Linked DNA regions of Homo sapiens: regions 2, 3 and 4 are each linked to region 1. The links are contacts of gene promoters, found by promoter capture Hi-C in human tissues and cell types (Jung and others, 2019). All regions are on one chromosome and are shown on one strand. The core of a region is centred on a gene start or on the middle of the fragment in contact, and the rest is flanking DNA. Distances in the headings are between cores, read along the strand shown.

Region 1 (3,011 bases), core at 180-2,679:
TGTAATCCCAGCACTTTGGGAGGCCGAGGTGGGCAGATCACGAGGTCAGGAGATCGAGACCATCCTGGCTAACACGATGAAACCCCGTCTCTACTAAAAATACAAAAAATTAGCCGGGCGTGGTGGCGGGCGCCTGTAGTCCCAGCTACTCGGGAGGCTGAGGCAGGAGAATGGCGTGAACCTGGGAGGCGGAGCTTGCAGTGAGCCTAGATCGCGGCACTGCACTCCAGCCTGGGTGACACAGCAAGACTCCATCTCAAAAAAAAAAAAAAAAATTACAGAAGTTGGCTGGGCATGGTGACTCATGCCTGCAATCCCAGCACTTCGGGAGGCCGAGGCGGGTGGATCAGCTGAGGTCAGGAGTTTAAGACCAGGCTGGCTAGAATGATGAAACTCTGTCTCTACTAAAAATACAAAAATTAGCTGGGCACGGCGGCGAATGCCTCTAATCCCAGCTACTCGGAGGCTGAGGCAGGAGAATCACTTGAACCTGGGAGGCGGAGGTTGCAGTAAGCGGAGATCTTGCCACTGCACTCCAGCCTGGGTGACAAGAGCAAAATTTCATCTCAAAAAAAAAAAAAAAAAAAAAAGTCAAAGATTACAGAAGTTGACAAAAAGGTTGAAGGAGAGGATTATCATTTCAACCAAGAAAAACATGTATCTTTTTAAGGGTATAAAGAACGAACAACAACGATTCATGACTTGGGAATCATGTGCAGCGAGGTATAGCACAAGTAGAATTTTTTGAGATATAAATTTGAGAAGTTTTAGAAAAGAAATAGATTGTAGAATTTAAAATCAAAAGCTCTTGTAATTCACTAAGAGCAAATTTATACTTTAAGACAATGTTATTTTAACATAGAGGACCAAAATCTCAATCTTTAGAAACACTTATAACTTTTTTTTGATTATAGCCAACTTAATCACATATACATTTAAAAAAATTTTAAAGAACTTTATTATAATTTCTTTTTTTTTTTTTTTTTTTTTTGAGATGGAGTCTGTTGCCCAGGCTGGAGTACAGTGTCACTATCTTGGCTCACTGCAAACTCCGCATTCCAGGTTCAAGTGATTCTCCCGCCTCAGCCTCCCGAGTAGCTGGGACTACAGGCATGCGCCACCATACCTGGCTACTTTTTGTATTTTTAGTAGAGATGAGGTTTCACCATTTTGGCTGTGCTGGTCTCGAACTCCTGACCTTGTGATCCGCCCACTTCAGCCTCCCAAAGTGCTGGGATTACAGGCATGAGTCACCACGCCAGGCCTATTATGATTTCTGTAGACTATTTATGACATGTTTGAACTTTTGTTTTGCCCTACCCTTTCTCTTTTATAATTAACCTGTCATTTTGCTTTAGGAAAATAATTTACCATGTAATAAATTATTATCATGCAGTGGCATGATCAGCTCATCGTAACCTCAACTCCTGGGCACAAGCAATCCTCCCTTCTCAGCTTCCTGAGTGGCCAGGACTACAGGTAAGTGCCACCATGCCAGACTAATTTTCAAAATTTTTGTAGAGACAGTATCTCACTGTGTTGTAGAGACAGTGTCTCACTATGTTGCTTAGGCTTGTCTTGAACTCCTGATCTCAAATGATCCACCTGCCTTGGCCTCCTAAAGCATTAGGATAACAGTCATGAACCACTGTGCCCAGCTTTTTTAAAAATTTAATATATATATATTTTTTAAATGGAGATGAGATCTCATTATGTTGCCCAGGCTGGTCTCAAACTCCTGAGCTCAAGTGATTCTCCCACCTTAGGGTCCCAAAGTGCTAGGATTACACACATGAGCCACCATGCCTGGCCTGTGCTCAGTTTTTTAAGTTTTTTTCTATTAACCATTTTTATAGCCTGTGAATGTCAGATATTTACCTAAGCAAGAAATTTAAAGTTAAATACATGGGTATTTTGTTGATAACTCAGAAGGTTTAGCTGTATTTCTTAAACCAACAATATTAAATTAGTCTTACTTATAAAAAAAATCACACAAAGATTATTTTGGTTTTGGCTGGGTTCATAGTTTTTTACCTTTGTGCCAAATCCTGACCCTGTAAAATATTTAATAAGACAAGTATAAATCTGACCATAAATCTAGGCAAATATGTATGTTGACAATTTTGAAGACATTTTAATATTTATTTTACTAATAATTTTAAAGCCAGTTTATTTATTAAAGAATTACTTAAGTCATGTGAACTTGGAAAACCTTTGGGCTTACTAATTTATGAGTGCTCATTTATCTATAAGTCAATTGGGTATCATGTAGATACAACATATAACATATTACATGTATATATGTAAACACATCTAAACACACATATATATGCACAAATAGAGATCTTATACCTTTATTTTTTGATTTGTCTTTTGAAACAGGGCCTCACTCTGTTGCCCAGGGTAGAGAGCAGTGGTATGACCATGGCTCACTGCAGCCTGGACCTCCCAGGCTCAAGTGATTCTCCCACCTCAGCCTCCTGAGTACCTGGGACTACAGGTGCGTGCCGCCATGCCCAGCTAACTTAAAAAAGTTTTTTTTTTGTAGAGTCAGAGTCTCACTATGTTGCCAGGGCTGGTCTTGAGCTCCTGGGCGCAAATGATCCTCCTACCTTGGCCTCCCAAAGTGCTGGGACTGCTGGCATGAGTCACCTCATCTGGCCCTTATAGTTTTCATTTTAGAATTTTAGTCATGAGATAGTAATACAAACTCACCAGTTTATAAAAGATAGTTGGATCTAAATTATTTTTGGAAAAAATTGGGACCTGTTAGTTCACATGGCTAAATTTTATTTGTCCCAATAGGTAATCTAATGAAGGCTGTGAGCCAAAATTTTTGGGTAAGGTAGTTCGATGGCAGTTTTATTTTAAAAATCTTTTATCCTTTTATTCAGTTTCAAATGAGTTTAGAGTTAGGTTTTTAATGTTAACATTTTAGCTTGAACTGGCTGAATCGTATAAGAAAAACAAAATTTCTAAGTCTTCTTAAGTTAGTAATACTATAAACAGTG
Region 2 (3,011 bases), core at 355-2,854, 230 kb before region 1:
TCTTTGGCCAAGGCCGGAAGACTCTAAGAGGGAAATGCTGGCAGGGCTCTGCAGGGATTAATGGTTTGGAAAGAGGGAGGAGGACAGTGAGCTGCTCTATGGTGGTGGGCACAGAAATGGCATGGATGGTTGTTGTCTAAATAGATTCCTAGCTTCAAGTTCCCAAAAGAGCCTGGGAACTGGTGTTCTGGAACACTCAGCCTGGCCTTTAGGGTGGGTTCACTAAGACTCCACTTGTCAAGAGTTTCTTAAAGCACTCACTACGTGCTTCCTTTGTTCGGCACTGTACCCAGCTAGGCACCTTGCAGGGCACAGTAAATGTCTGCACTTCTGGACAATAAGATTCCAGCCTGGGCCAGGCACAGTGGCTCACCCCTGTAATCTCAACATGTTGGGAGGCCAAGGCAGGTGGATCACCTGAGGTCAGGAGCTCAAGACTAGCCTGGCCAACATGGCAAAACCCCATCTCTATTAAAAATACAAAATAATTAGCCGAGCATGGTGGCACGGGCCTGTAATCCCAGCTACTCAGGAGGCTGAGGCAGGAGAATCACCTGAACCCGGGAGGTGGAGGTTGCAGTGAGCCGAGATCGCGCCACTGCACTCCAGCCTGGGCGACAGAGGGGGACCCAATCTCAAAAAAAAAAAAAAAAAAAAAAGACTCCAGCCTATCTCTGAAAGTATCAGTAATCAACCTATCAACCTTTGAGTGTGTGAAAAGTGTCTCTTCCTGGAAGAATCCTTACCCAACCCCGTAGACAGCCAGGGTCCTCTGTTAGAGCTTCTTTTCTGGAGGATTGGTCAACGTTGTAATGTTATGGGCTTCCCTTCAACATCTTCAGCATCACAGGAACTAGCCTGGTCCTTGGCTCACTGCAGGTATCTAATAAGGAGTTGATGAGTTAAACAGGTCAGTTCTCAGTCCTATCTGGGTTTTCAGAAGGCACCAGCAGAAGGTTCTTATCTTGTTAGGAGAAAGGTTTCAGCTGGTAGTTTCAAACACTCTGAAGGTACTGACAGCCAGGGGCCCAGGTTTCATGCCAAGACAAGGAAATAGGATGAAAGAGAAAAGGCCCAGGGCAAAAAGAAGGCTGTGGGTGGGAAGGAGGGAGGGAGGGGAGAGGGTATCAAGGCTAAACTCAGCATTGGTAGAGGCCACAATTTCACAGCTCTCCTCCACTAGGCGGGATCTTTGTGCCAATTGTCTTAAGTCTTGGCTAAGACAGCATTCTACACCTCCTTTCTTATAACTCCCTCTCTCTCCCTTCCATCCCATTCCCAAACATTTTAATTTAACTGCAAATAGCACCCACATGAGCTGGACTCAAAAGGCATCCAGAAACTCATCAAGTACAAAGGGGTATTGGACTCACCACAAATCCTGCCCCCGGTGGAAGGTCTCTGCTTATATTGAACAAAAGAGTGTTCTGCAGAGAAATGTGGTAAATCTGGGTGGCCGACTCTTTGCCAACAGACCTCTCCCATAAAACAGAAATAATGGTGGCCATCTGAAATGGGAAGAAATGAGAGCATGCATGCAGGGCCCAAAGTTCAGTGCCTGGCCGCAGTCACGGTACTGGCAGTCTTGAGGCTAGCCTGGGAACCACAACTGCTATTTCAATTTTTTTTTTTTTAAGGTGGAGTCTTGCTCTGTCACCCAGGCTAGAGTGCAATGGTGCGATCTCGGCTCACTGCAACCTCTGCCTCCTGGGTTCAAGCGATTGTCCTGCCTCAGCCTCCCGAGTAGCTGGGATTACAGGCATACGCTACCACACCCAGCTAATTTTTGGATTTTTAGTAGAGATGGGGTTTCACCATGTTGGCCACGCTGGTCTCTAACTCCTGACCTCAGGTGATCCACCCGCCTCGGGCTCCCAGAGTGCTGGGATCATAGGCTTGAGCCACCGCACCTGGCCAGTGTTTCAATTTGTAAGACCTGGCTCCTCTAACCTGCTGTATGAGGAATCAGTCACTCCTTTTTCCTCTGTTTCCCTCCCTTGGTTGTACCGGGGCAGTCTAAACATTGCAGCCTTCTGAGACAGGCACCCAGGAAGACCAGGCAAGACTACAGTCATGTACTCACTGTCAGTAAACATTAGGCTTTCACAAAGTCCAGGCAGACTTCAGAAGACGTGGATGAAGTCCTTAGTGTTAGCTCTCCTGGGGCATTTCTCTCCACCTAGTGTTGTTAGTGCCCTTTGGATTGGGTGAGGGAGGGGTGGAGGAGGTGAGGAAGGAAAGTGTCGAGAAAGGCAGGCGCCCACTGACTAGAGTAGGGAAGTAGCTGGCACTTTGGGAGGCCGAGGCGGGTGGATCACCTGAGGTCAGGGGTTCAAGACCAGCCTGGCCAACATGGCAAAACCCCGTCTCTACTAAAAAATACAAAAATTAGCCGGGCCTGGTGGCATGCACCTGTAATCCCAGCTACTTGGGAGGCTGAGGCAGGAAAATCACTTAAACCTGGGAGGCGGAGGTTGCAGTGAGCTGGGATTGCACCACTGCACTCCAGTCTGGGTAATAGAGTGAGATTCTGTCTCAAAAATAATAATAATAATTTTTTTTAAAAAAAAAAGGGTCTTGGGCCCCCTCAGTCTTCTCGCTCGGGGACCTGCCTCTTGCCTCTTCTCTGAAGCTCCATAAAGGAGACCCTGTTTCATTTTGCTTGCCTCTTTCTATAAAATCTTGTTCTGAGAGAACTACCTTGTATATTTGTTTATGCTAACATGTAAATGACTGCTGGGGATTTATGCTATCTCATTTTCATAAGGGAAAAAGCTTTCAGCCAAAGAAATGAAAACCTTCAAGTGAGGGAGGCAGAGGGCCCTCCCGATGATTTAGAAAGCACACTGTCTACTCCATCCAGAAAAGCAGTGGGTGTTCTATAACCCAGCTGTGACAGGGGGCCCATGCCATTTGCGTTTAGCTGAAATTACTGAGCAACTTCAAGACAGGGTCTCACTGTCACCCAGAATACAGTGGTGCAATCATAGCTCACTGCAACCTCCAAATCC
Region 3 (3,011 bases), core at 335-2,834, 210 kb before region 1:
GAGGAGATGCTGCTGCTGATATGTGACAAAAGCAAGAGGACATGCTCCTCCAGATCCCCTGGTGGTCACTCTTATGGCAGCTAAGGCTCACAAATCCCCCCACCTCCCAGGGCCCTGGATGCCCTACTCCAGGCCTCCTAGACCAGCAGCACATGCATTGCTCATGGCTTCTGGGCAGAGTCCAGTCCCAGGTGATGCATGGTCCTCACTGCACAGATCTGAAGCCTGACGGCCAAAGTAGATGCTGTTTCCCAGGTGTGAGTGCTCGCTTCACTCACGCCAGACAATCTGAATGATATGGTTTGGCTGTGTCCTCACCCAAATCTCATCTTGAATTTCCACCATGTTGTGGGAGGAACTGGGTGGGAGGTAATTGAATCATGGGGCCAGGTCTTTCTCATGCTGTTCTTGTGATAGTGAATAAATCTCATGAGATCTGATGGGTTTTTGTTTTGTTTTGTTTTGAGACAGAGTCTTGCTCTGTTGCCAGGCTGGGGTGCAATGGCACGATCTTGGCTCACTGCAACCTCTGCCTCCCAGGTTCAAGCGATTCTCCTGCCTCAGCCTCCTGAATAGCTGGGACCACAGGTGCATGCCACAATGCCCAGCTAATTTTTGTATTTTTAGTACAGATGGGGTTTCACCATGTTGGCCAGGATGGTCTCAATCTGTTGACCTTGCGATCCACCCACCTCGGCCTCCCAAAGTGCTGGGATTACAGGCGTGAGCCACAGTGCCCGGCTGATCTGATGGTTTTATAAGGGAGAGTTTCCCTGCACAAGCTCTCTTTCTGCTTGCTACCAACCTTGTAATATGTGACTTGCTTCCCCTTGCCTTCCACCATGATTGTGAGGCTTCCCCAGACACGTGGAATTAACCCTCTTTTTCTGTATACATTTTCCACTCTTACGTATGTCTTTATCAGCAGCACGAAAACAAACTAATACACTGGGTCTGGCCTGGATTTTAGAGGCCATGTGGCCATAAGACGGCTCCCGCATGTGATGGCCCAATATTGCTTGACATTCCCCTCCCATTGCCCTGTGACAGGACCTTGGATGGGGAACAGACTCAGAACTAGAACCTCCAGACTCGTGCCCATGCTGATGAGGTGCCGAGCAGGCAGGATCGCTGGGCTGGTGATCCCCTGGGTGCTTGTAACATACTCACTTATCACACCCTTGAGTGTGCAGCTCACAACAGACATCAGGATCACTGTCCAGGAGTGTCCTGGGTTAACCTTTGTTGGCTGGGCCTCAGTGCCATTCTCAGCAACGTAGGCAAGCATCAGCCCTAGGGCTCAGCTGATCCTTGGCTGGGGGGCTGGCAGCTTCCATGTGTCCCTGGGAATAAAAGAGGAGGCTTTTATTAGCTTAAACTGCCCCCAGCAGATCCAAGAAAAACATTGCAAGGGCCTGGGCTCTGGGCTCAGCACCAGACACTCATCCCACCCTGGCCACCAGGGCCCCTTCCCGGAACCTACCCCCTCCTCTTTGCATCCAGTTTGCTCAGGTCTGATTAATCCAGCCACAAAAGTCTGGGATGGTCCTGGACAATCCACATGTCCAGGGTTAGGACTTAGGGCTTCTTGCCTAAATGTGTGAACACTTGTGAATCTGAGAGGGGATATAATTTTAGAATCCAGCTCCATTCTCATTCAGCTTCAAATTACATTCTCACCTTCACCCTGTAGTGGGTACATCTGTTCTCAAGGGCGGTCAGAACCTCATGGAAGGCAGACAATGTAGGACATTCGTTTCAGCACTTTGAAAGCAGAGAACAACCACTCGTGCAGAAAAACAAAATGTGTGCTAAACCTTTCTACGTACTATTCTACCTCTCTAATATTTATTCATCTCATTTTATTATTTCACCATTATTATGGTTGAGGCCCTTCCTATGAACATCAGTAACCAGCTACAAGCTAATACAAATCTTACTTTATAATGCCCTTTGCCATGTACTTTAAAAAAAAAAATCAAGTAGAGACGGGTCTTGCTATGTTGACCAGGCTGGTCTCAAGCTCTTGGCCAACCCTCCCACCTCAGCCTCCCAAAGTGCTAGGATTATAGGCGTGAGCCACTGTGCCTGGCCAGCCATGTACAGCCATGTTTTTACTACTATCCCTAAGACTTGACTATTTAATGGAGATTCCAACATTTTTTGTTTTAATATGAAAGTGCTAAAGCTTCCCTGAAAACCCCCTGGATACAACACCATCTGCATATGCCCAAGGACAGCACTCAGGCCCAGCATGGCCCTCTGGGACAGCCCAGCCACTCAGAAGCTGAGAACAGTATGTGGCTGGGGGTGGGAGCTGGCACTCCCCTGTGGATGACCAGGCAGGATGGACCAGAGGTGCTGGTCTGTGCTGATGCCCATGTCCACCTTCCCCACTCCCCTCTGACCACCAGGGTCTCTGAGTAGAGGCCGCTTGGGCCCTTGCTCAAGCTGACAACCTGTGAGGCAGCCAGGCAGCCGAGGAGAAGTGAAAGGGCAGGAGTGGGGGAACTGAAACTCACTGTATGGTGTGGTTTTGGGGGGTGCCCCCCTGGGTCTCCCCCCGGGGCCTCTGCACTGAGAGCATCACAGTGGGCTGCTGTGCTCAGCCTTGCCTCCCCCTCCCCAGCTCCTTCACAAACGGGACCCTCCAACCCTCCCTGATCTGTCCATCTTACCGGCTTCTTCCAGCCTGCCGGATGGCGGACAGGGGTCACCTTGACACGTACCTATCACCTTGAGGAAAAGGTTTTAACGGAGCATGTCCGAACCCTCTGGGACTCTCTCTCCACCAGCACCACAAGGACCATGTGCCTGGGGAGTTCAATCCCACCTGTGGAGACTTCTCCCCACCCTAGGCCCTCAGCCACATCCACGGCACAAGTCAGAACTAAAACAGAAACAGAAACCAAAGACCACATCCTGCCGGCACAGCCTGCGGGTTACTGCAGCCAGCTCTGGGAGCCCACTGCCTGCTGAGGTGCAGCCCTGGCAGATGAAGCCCCAGCACT
Region 4 (3,011 bases), core at 289-2,788, 190 kb before region 1:
TCCTTGAATCACAGCAGCATGGGGCATCCCACAGCTCAAAGTCTGAGGCAAATATACGTCTTGAACCAAACACCCTGGTACTGATGTAAATTCTGGTACGTAAATTCTGAGTGCATCTTTATCTTATAGCAGAAAAGTATAACCTATGGATCTACTCGGGTACTTGATTTTAAATGCTCTTAAATCCCAGGAAAGGAAAATTTCCCCAACACATGCATTCTCACACACCACAGCCAGTGTGACAACTCTCAGTGGGACTCAGTTTCCCTAAGGGGAACCAAACCAAAAGTGCCCCCCTCCTACCCCTTCCCTAGAAATCAGCTTACACTTTACTTTTCAAATACAAAGCCTGATTTCTGAGAAGTGATGTAGAGTAAGAAGAAGATCTGGCCAATAGAGGCTGAAATTCCTCAGCTCAGAACATGAGAATCCTGTCTGATATTCCCTCCTTAGCCAGGTGTTGCCACAAAGGGAGCTAAGGCTTTGCCAGGTCAGAAATTATCCTTGCCTTAAAAGGAATGTTCCTGCAATTCAAAAATACACCCAGACCACCTTGTCTGTATATGGGAGGTAGGGAGATGGGGGAGGAGAAAAGTAAAAGCATACAAACTTGAAAACAGCCAGGCTCTGGGAGGGTTAGCTATCCCTTCCCTCCCCTCAAGGACAGCCAGATCTGATACAGTTGCCGATAAGACCAAGCTGCCTCACTCTACTGCCCTTACCCAGGTCTTTCCTTATGACATCAGAGTCCCCAACATCATCGGAGACCCTCCTCAGAAACTGGAAGGTGACAGTCACTAACATTCTAGCTGGAAACTGTACACCAGGAAAAAGCCCACCAGGAAGGAGCTCCAAGCCATCCTGGGAGGTAAGCAGAAAAAAAAGCTTGCTGCCTAAGTGCTGCAGCGAGAGCTTTTCTGATAAAAACTACACTTTTAAAACCAACACTGAGCTTTGCCTATCACAAAAGCTGTAATTTGGTCCCTTCCTGTAAAATGACACCTTTCCCTTTAGAAACAATATGTAAATCTGATACAACCGAAATAAACACAGTATAAGGCTCACTAACTCATTTAATATCTTTCATTCAAGGACTTGAGGGTCTTAAATCACTTTATAAATGTAAAAATTCATGCCTCATCACTTCAAAACAGGAAGTTAGGAGAGTATCAATTTCCCATCTTAAGGTCAGTACATTTGAGGAACATGCCACGGAAAAGCCCATCCTCTAACCACTGGAGGCTCGGAGGTCAGGCCTCCATATCATTATCCTCAGCTCCGAATAAATAGCTTGGGACAAACCAATAAAGCCGCTCCAGTGGGGAATTGAGTGAAATCAATCCTGCCTGCCTGTTAGAATGGGAAGGTCCATAGAAGTGGGCCTAGCTGTGCTTCTCTGGTGCAGTACCTGCATCTGACTTTAGCCACAAATTGCAGGGCCACAAATCTATAGCTCAGGGGACTCAGTTTTCTCCTGCTACTCCTTATTGGTCCTGGAACCTCCGTTGCTCCTGTACCTATAAGTGGCCAAAATCAACACTAAAAAAGCCTGTTGTCCCCACCCAACGCCTGCCATGCTGTGTCCCCAGTTGCCTGTATCTGTCTCCAAACACAAAGCCCCTGATGGGGGCTAAGTGTCATCTCAGCACACCCCTGAGCAAAGTGTCTCTAGAGCAAAGTGTCCTGACAGGCCCACCCTGGCCCAACCTACTTGTATCCTTGTATCATTAGGTCATTCACACAGGCAGGCGGGAGAGTCCTCCACCAGTCTAGGGCCCTCCAGTGCCTTCTGTCTCACAGGGAAGCAGATGTATCTGTCTTCCAAACAGGGAAAAAAATCTGAGCTCCCAAAGGGCTATCCTGCCACAGGATAGGAGCTGGTGGTCACATGTAAGCCAGCTCAGAACTGAAGGCACCTTGTTCCTGGAGACATAAGGCCAAGCACTGGGGACCTGGAACCTGGCCCATTTGTTTTCTAGAGAGAAAGACACTGTACCACCCCCAAGGCAGGTTGCTTGGCCCTCCCTTGATCCCTCTTCCTGGTACAGCAGAGAGAAACCCAGGCCTCTCAATTACCCAAGGCTGATAGCCACAGCAATAGCTCACTTATTACTAGGGTGCTGAGAACACATGAGAATTGGTGAGCAGAGCCCCCAAGGTTACACCAGCAGAAAGCTGCCTGGGGTCCTGCTCTTTCCCTCCAGGGAGAGCCTTGAGCAGTGCCCGAACACTCTGCCCTCCTATCTCCAAGCTCTGTACCTAAGGCAGCCAAACACCCCCAGGGAAACCCTGGGGAAAGAAAAGAGACAGTCCCCGGGAAGGAAGGGAAAGGGGTCCGTTTCTGACTGAGCATAGAAAGAGGGAAAGGAAGATACCTGGGAAAGAGGCCAATGTCTCCCTGCCCTTGCCAGGAACCGGGCTGTAACACTCCCCATCCCAGCCAGGCATCTCTCACGGAGGACCAGAGATCAGGGAGGGCAGGTGAAGAGCTGGCAGCCAGGGGGCTGGGCTGGGCCCCAGGACACGGACCTGGGGAGTGGAGGGCGCCTAGGTGTGGGGTCCATCACCCAGTTTTTCCATGCACCCTGGGGAGAAGGCGGCGGGGTCATTTTGGCAGCGTTCCCTTCCCTTCTGGAAAGTCCTCAGCCTCTAATTCAGGAGGGTCCTTGGTTTCCACTCCCAAGCCCTGGCTCCCCAGCTTCCACCCAGACTGTCACCCCCCTCCACCCTGCTGAGGTGGCCTCCTGGGTGCTCTCCGCCCGGAAGAAGAGGAGGTGTCAACCTACCGCTGCCCCTCGCTTCCCCCTGACACCCCTTTGTTTCAGGCAGGGAAAGTTGCCAACGCGCACCCCCTTCCCCAACACGCCCCCCTGTGCGCCCATCCCCCGCAGGGAATCCAAGCCCCGGGCGCACCACCTATCTAATCTGCGGCTGGATCTCGAACCGGGGCAGCAGCCTCGAAACCGAAAGCAAAGAGGAAGCGGGATCTGCTACAGCCCCAAGTCCGGTCG

What was found. The method cuts DNA at HindIII sites, captures the fragments that hold promoters and counts their contacts. A contact is called where the count stands out against the background at its distance.
Region 2: a fragment that was not itself captured here is called in contact with the fragment with the promoter of RDH12 in region 1 in 1 of the 25 tissues and cell types used here (hippocampus).
Region 3: a fragment that was not itself captured here is called in contact with the fragment with the promoter of RDH12 in region 1 in 1 of the 25 tissues and cell types used here (lymphoblastoid cells).
Region 4: a contact is called between a fragment that was not itself captured here and the fragment with the promoter of RDH12 in region 1, in 2 of the 25 tissues and cell types used here (dorsolateral prefrontal cortex and hippocampus).

What each region holds. Positions count from the first base shown.
Region 1 is chr14:67,700,457-67,703,467 of GRCh38, forward strand. It overlaps RDH12 (retinol dehydrogenase 12), which reads left to right and starts at 1,430. Exons shown (of 9, transcript NM_152443.3): 1 at 1,430-1,479. It also overlaps a transcript of GPHN not described here. The HindIII fragment of the contact is 5,475 bases long and covers 1-3,011 here.
Region 2 is chr14:67,466,358-67,469,368 of GRCh38, forward strand. It overlaps LOC105370542 (a long non-coding RNA gene), which reads right to left and starts at 2,359. Exons shown (of 3, transcript XR_007064213.1): 1 at 2,084-2,359; 2 at 1-1,508. It also overlaps a transcript of GPHN not described here. The HindIII fragment of the contact is 4,920 bases long and covers 1-3,011 here.
Region 3 is chr14:67,485,830-67,488,840 of GRCh38, forward strand. It overlaps TMEM229B (transmembrane protein 229B), which reads right to left and starts at 2,892. Exons shown (of 3, transcript NM_001348543.2): 1 at 2,679-2,892; 2 at 1,171-1,343. It also overlaps a transcript of GPHN not described here. RefSeq lists enhancers at 2,234-2,303, 2,467-2,966, 2,604-3,011. The HindIII fragment of the contact is 6,771 bases long and covers 1-3,011 here.
Region 4 is chr14:67,511,956-67,514,966 of GRCh38, forward strand. It overlaps a transcript of GPHN not described here and a transcript of TMEM229B not described here. Among named protein-coding and RNA genes, the nearest start is that of PLEKHH1, 20 kb to the right of the region's middle. RefSeq lists a silencer at 3,005-3,011. The HindIII fragment of the contact is 8,257 bases long and covers 1-3,011 here.